2 separate regions of the Homo sapiens genome follow, and region 1 is linked to region 2. Evidence: promoter capture Hi-C in 16 types of primary human blood cells and fetal thymus (Javierre and others, 2016). All regions are on one chromosome and are shown on one strand. Each heading gives the region's core, a stretch centred on a gene start or on the middle of the fragment in contact. The rest is flanking DNA. Distances are from core to core; before and after follow the strand shown. Region 1 holds the start of PDE1A (phosphodiesterase 1A). Region 2 holds the start of FRZB (frizzled related protein).

Region 1 (3,104 bases), core at 481-2,980, 440 kb after region 2:
AACACACATGTGGTCTCACGTCCTATTTGACTAGACTTACGTGCTTAAACTGAGAACCTGCAGACCCATGCATTTTCCAGTGCTTGGGATGGCATAATATCAAATGACCTTTTTGCCATTGCATGCTTTGGCACTTGTGTATTACAAACACAGCCAGACTATAACAATGAAGAAAATCAGGAAAAGAAAAGCTTACCTTTTCTCCATGATGCTTAATGGAAAATACCATGACACTCTTAGGGTACTTTTGGTTGGAAAAGTCACATGGGTTGATCTATGTGTTTTGTCACACAAAATGAGTTGGTTAGATGGAATTCTTGGTGTGTTTCAGCTGATTTGTGTTTTAGAAAATTAACATATTTATTGAGCACCAGTTAGGACGATTTCTAACAGCACTGAGTCGGGTAGGGTATGTGTGTGAACGTGTTAGACTAAGTCAGCCTGACTTTGTTTTTCCACAACAGGAAAAATAAAAACACCCTTTCTGACCCCCCTCAGGAAAAAAACTATTCATAATAAATTATAGTCTATTGTATAGAAGACTTGGCCTTTTTATTTATGCCATATATTTTAGTATTTTGCACACTACAGTTGTGTTAATGTAAGGAATATATTTTAGTAATTTAATTAATAATCATGAAATCTTTGTCTTATTGAATACTACATTAAAGTTGAATAAGGTGATAAAGCCAACTTTTTTCCAATGTTAAATTTAAATGTTCTTTGAGAAAAAGCTAATAAAAACATTTAAGAAATATATATTTTTCTTTGTGCCCAGTGAATATTTAATTTACTGGTATCATCTGAATGCTTTATAGGGTCTCAGATTGGTTTTAAATATAGTGCTTTCCATAAAGTGAATCTAAACTTTCTAACTTAATCACAGAAAGAAAAAAGAATATAAACCTAAGGTAATGAAGTATGTTATGGATTTCCTATGATTAACAACTTTCAGATTCTTCAGCTGGTAATCAAGCCTTTGGACTTCAAGCTATATTTCATACTTGCTTGCCGTTTGAACTGTACCTTGGCTAGATGTTTATTAGTATTTATGTTGAGTTCCCTCCATTGTGTTCATGTAGAAATTGTCTCACATTTCCAATTCAAAAGAAGACAAAATGAAAGTTAATTTTTAAAAGTTGATGGGCTTATTATTTTCTTGAATTTTCCCTCAGGAGGAAGATTTATGCTATATTAATGGTAATATAGGTAAACCATGACTACAGAAATTGAATGCTACCCACAAACGCAAAATCCCTCCCAGAAGACCTGTACAATGTGTTATTTCTTATGTGCTTTCCTAAATACAAAGAAAGCCAAAGCATATGGTAATAATAAAGCATCTGCTTCAAAGATCTGTATCTAAGTTTGTTTATACATGGTCAGTATATTTAACTGCTGTATAGCACACATGTGAATTTATCATTGGTACTTATTGATCATAAAGAGAACAGTGACATAGATGTCACTACATAACTATGTAATATCTATATAAATATGTTATACATAATATAAAATCATCTTTTTATTTATAGCTTCCTTATTTATTTATAACAGTACATAATAAGTGTGTAGTTTTTGAAGTATCAGGCATCATAACTTCTATGGCAGTTTCTTTGCAAGAAGCAGGCGAATCAGATTTAGAAATAACATGATAGTACCATTAAAGCTGGAAAGAAATATAGAATTCAATTAATATTATAATTTCATTTTACAAACAAGAAAATGGTCTCAGACAGGTCAAGAAATTTGCCCACAGTGGCCCGGCATATTTGCAATAGAACTAGGACTAGAACCCATTTATTTTATTTTTAGTTCAATGCTCTCATAATGATTACATTTCCTAGTTTGGATTAGAACGGCTCGATAAAATCCATGATTCCCTTATAACTCTCTTCTCCTTCCTTATCTCTCCTCAGGGAGGAAAATAAAAAGGTGATCTTTCTCCCTGGAAGTATTTGGAGAGTGCCAATAACTACAGATAGTATCCTCCTTTGTGACATTTGATCTTTATTTTTATGGATCATTCAACTAAAGGCATGCACGTTACTCATTTTTCCCTTTTTATTACATGTATATATTAAAAACATTCTAATCATGCTTTGAAATGATTTAGTTTATTACAAATCTCTGACCTGGAATCTTATGACATTATTGACTGAATAGGAACTTTGTTAGTGATTCAGATACAGGAAGGTCTCCAAAATAAGTTACATTAAAATACGAGCATTCCCTTTATCTGGAGCTAGAATAAGAGTTCCCGCAGTGTAAATCTGTCTTCTAAAAGAAAACAATTTTTAATATCATTTATTTTCAGCTGTTCACAAATTCTTTTATACCTTCTTTTCTTTCCTTTTACTTTTATAAATCCAAATTTCATCACATAATATATAAACCATAGGCTCCCAGGCACTTTGGAGGGGCTTTTTGTTAAAAAAAAGCATGTGGATGTGTGTGTGTGTTTCCATCTCTTTTTTGCAAGAGATGTTTCCTCTTAGTTGGAAACCACATTTGGGTACAGACATCTGGGTATAATGTCACCAGTAGAAATTAGCAATTTTTGTTTTTCTAACTTTTGTAGCTCTGGTCAGCTTCGCATGGGCTTCTATCAGTTGATATGGCATCTTCAACTTCAGCCAAGAGGAGGTTATTAGATTATAAGTGCTAAAAATGATGAGTCGTCTCCACACTTCAGCCAGCATGAATACAAGCAAGATTGTAAAATAATTATAATCTGAAGCAGAGCCAGCCATGCAACCCGAGCCTATCTTTCTTCATTAATTTGTATACAGTTCTTATTTTAAGAGAACAAACTTTCAGAGGGTACTCACATGGGGCTGCTGAACCAGCTGTACAACTTTTATTTTGAAGAAAAAAAGTTGAGCCTCAGAACAGTCTGTTTTAAAGACAGGGAGGGACTTAGCCTTTCGGAGCTTGACCAGCATGTGGAAGGAGAGCTCTCATGGCTGCAATAACTTAGGGAGTTCCTACCTGGATGACACTGGGGTAGGAAGTTTTCTGTTTGTTTTGTTCTGTTTCGGAGGGTCCCGTGCACTTCTCTTGCCTGGATCAACGTGACTCTTGGTGGTTTTTGCACACCCTGC
Region 2 (3,029 bases), core at 208-2,707:
TCCATTTTCTCCTCCAGATTGAACTCATCTGGATGGAAAGGTTTTGATTGTTGTTATAATCATCATTATTACCTGCGTGATGTCGTTTTCCTACACTTTTTTTTTAAGTGTCGGGCAGAATTGTTGCTGAGAATAACAAATAATATCTGCCATGTTATCCGTGAGCAAAATCAGAAAAAAAAAGTCCAAGTGTATTAGAGCTGTTAGTTTCCACGTTAACCCTTAAGGAGCAAAGCTCAAGAGTTCTAATTCCACTAGGTGGGGGGGGCGGGAATAGAAGGAAAAAACCCCTTTTCCTTGCTTCTGGTGGCCTATTTGTAGTCATGAACAGCATTTCTTTGTTTCTCTCTCTCTTTTTTTTTTTTTTTAAAGGCAATCCTCCCCCCACCTCCTCCCCCGCAGTTATTGAAAATGGAGACCTCTGTAGTCACTAGCTCTGGGTTGATATGGCTCCACCGTTGCTCGCAGGGGTCTGTGTTTTCCGCTACTTGGACAAAGTGACATTGCTTAAGCCTTTCCCCCCACCAGGTCTGACTTTCTGCAGAGCCAGTGATTGCAGAGGAAAAGCTGTAGTTTGCTTAAAGGAAATACCTCCAGGAAGGAGGGTCTCGGGTGGGTTCCCAAGTGGGGAACTAGGGGGACTTTTCCGTAGGGAATTGGGGTGGGCTCTTCAGTGAGGGGCTAGGGGCTCGTTTCTGGGGCCAAAGACGGGTTCCCTAGTGTGAGGGCGCGCTCGACTCGGCGCTGTCTTGGGGTCTCGCACTCGCACGGCTTCGCACCCCACCGCCTGCGACTCCCAGGCCTTCTCTTCCCCGGGCGCCCACTCCATTCTCGGGAAGAGCAGCCGGCACTGGAGGGCAGAGACTGCCCCAGGGGCGGAGCTCCCTCTCAGGCGGGAGGTAGGAAAGTGCAGAGCCGCCCGGGCAGAGGCACAGACGTCCCTGCGGGGCTCCTCCTGAGCGTCCCTCCTGCCAGCCAGGGTCGCAGCCGCAGCGGCGGCCGCAGCTCTTAGCCCACACAGGACTTGTAAACTCTTACTGCACCCTTCTCTCCCATTAGGAGCTTTTCCTCCCTCCTTCCCCCCAACCCCTCTGTCCTCCTCACTTTGGGGAATTTAATGCTTTCTTTAGCATCTTTTTGTGTGCGTGATCTAGGGGAGGAGACACCCCAGAGCTCCAACTAGCTCTCAGCTGAATTCTACTTTTGTTTTTATGTCTTCCTCGCCTCCTCTCGTGTCCCTCTTATCTGACTGATCTGCGAAGTCTGATGCTTCTGCCAGAGGGAGAGGAATAAATAGATGTTGCTGCTTCCGAAGGCTTAGACGTTGGGAAAGAGCAGCCTGGGCGGCAGGGGCGGTGGCTGGAGCTCGGTAAAGCTCGTGGGACCCCATTGGGGGAATTTGATCCAAGGAAGCGGTGATTGCCGGGGGAGGAGAAGCTCCCAGATCCTTGTGTCCACTTGCAGCGGGGGAGGCGGAGACGGCGGAGCGGGCCTTTTGGCGTCCACTGCGCGGCTGCACCCTGCCCCATCCTGCCGGGATCATGGTCTGCGGCAGCCCGGGAGGGATGCTGCTGCTGCGGGCCGGGCTGCTTGCCCTGGCTGCTCTCTGCCTGCTCCGGGTGCCCGGGGCTCGGGCTGCAGCCTGTGAGCCCGTCCGCATCCCCCTGTGCAAGTCCCTGCCCTGGAACATGACTAAGATGCCCAACCACCTGCACCACAGCACTCAGGCCAACGCCATCCTGGCCATCGAGCAGTTCGAAGGTCTGCTGGGCACCCACTGCAGCCCCGATCTGCTCTTCTTCCTCTGTGCCATGTACGCGCCCATCTGCACCATTGACTTCCAGCACGAGCCCATCAAGCCCTGTAAGTCTGTGTGCGAGCGGGCCCGGCAGGGCTGTGAGCCCATACTCATCAAGTACCGCCACTCGTGGCCGGAGAACCTGGCCTGCGAGGAGCTGCCAGTGTACGACAGGGGCGTGTGCATCTCTCCCGAGGCCATCGTTACTGCGGACGGAGCTGGTGAGTTTTGACACGGCCCACCCTTCCCTTACCCTACAGCCTCCTCAATTCTTGGAGTCCTTGTTACTAGCCTTTACTCTCTAATTTTTTTCTCTTCGGATCACTTAATCTCTCCCATAACTGCTCCTCTATCAAAGACCCTTCTTCTTCTTTCTTCTTTTTTCAAAAACAAAAACAAAAAAACCCTCACCTTATCACCTTCCAAACTGATGCACTCTGGCACTGTGTTCCAATAGGCGATCTTTCTAAAACAATCCATGCATTCCAAACCCATCACACTTCTACTCCACAGGAATCCTTCACTTCAACTCCTTACATGTGCAAGTAGCCACATTTTGTAAAGTGATGCTCTTTTTCTTTTAAAATGTGTTTATAATCATTGGGTTTTCTTTGCTGATTCTCAGGCAATCTCAGTCATCAGGTTTCTGTATCTTTAGTGTCTTAGATGCTTGTTAAGATTGTGTGGAGGAAACAGAAAACTGAAGCCCCATTTTCTTCTAATTAAAAATGCCAAGATAATTTCAATAACCTTACTCTAACCGACAGATGTTAGGGGTATGTGTTTGCTCAAGATCCAGTTTGAGCAATTACCTTCACCTTAAATTTCCCCCTCCTTTCAATGAGATAAATTGTTCTTCCATTCCAGAATGAAACAATTGTGAAACATTGCTATGCACTGTTAATTAGCTTCTGTGGCTTGCCATAGAGCTGGCAGACTGAAATTACTGAGCTCTTTTCACATGCCCACATGCCTTCAAGTCATTTTATAAGTGGCATACAGATGAAAGGAGTTATATTTAAGGCGTGTTATCATACACTCACGTAATGTTATTTTAAATCTCACCCCTTATTCCACTCTCATGTTTTGAAAAAAAAATTGTCTTTAATACCTTATTTCATGCTCCTTTTCCGTGTGTGCACCAACCACAGTCATTTCAGTCTTTCCCTACCATAAAACTTTATTGCAGCTCTAAATTTAATGGAGTCAATCACAAGTTGTTTTCTCACTA

The links. The method cuts DNA at HindIII sites, captures the fragments that hold promoters and counts their contacts. A CHiCAGO score of 5 or more calls a contact.
Region 1: a contact is called between a fragment that was not itself captured here and the fragment with the promoter of FRZB in region 2, in 1 of 17 cell types (neutrophils). The highest score is 5.6, in neutrophils.

Annotation. Positions count from the first base shown.
Region 1 is chr2:182,426,857-182,429,960 of GRCh38, reverse strand. PDE1A (phosphodiesterase 1A) reads left to right here and starts at 2,925. Exons shown (of 15, transcript NM_001363871.4): 1 at 2,925-3,104. The HindIII fragment of the contact is 3,073 bases long and covers 194-3,104 here.
Region 2 is chr2:182,865,065-182,868,093 of GRCh38, reverse strand. It overlaps FRZB (frizzled related protein), which reads left to right and starts at 1,457. Exons shown (of 6, transcript NM_001463.4): 1 at 1,457-2,019. The coding sequence starts at 1,542. RefSeq lists an enhancer at 1,326-2,294. The HindIII fragment of the contact is 6,424 bases long and covers 1-3,029 here.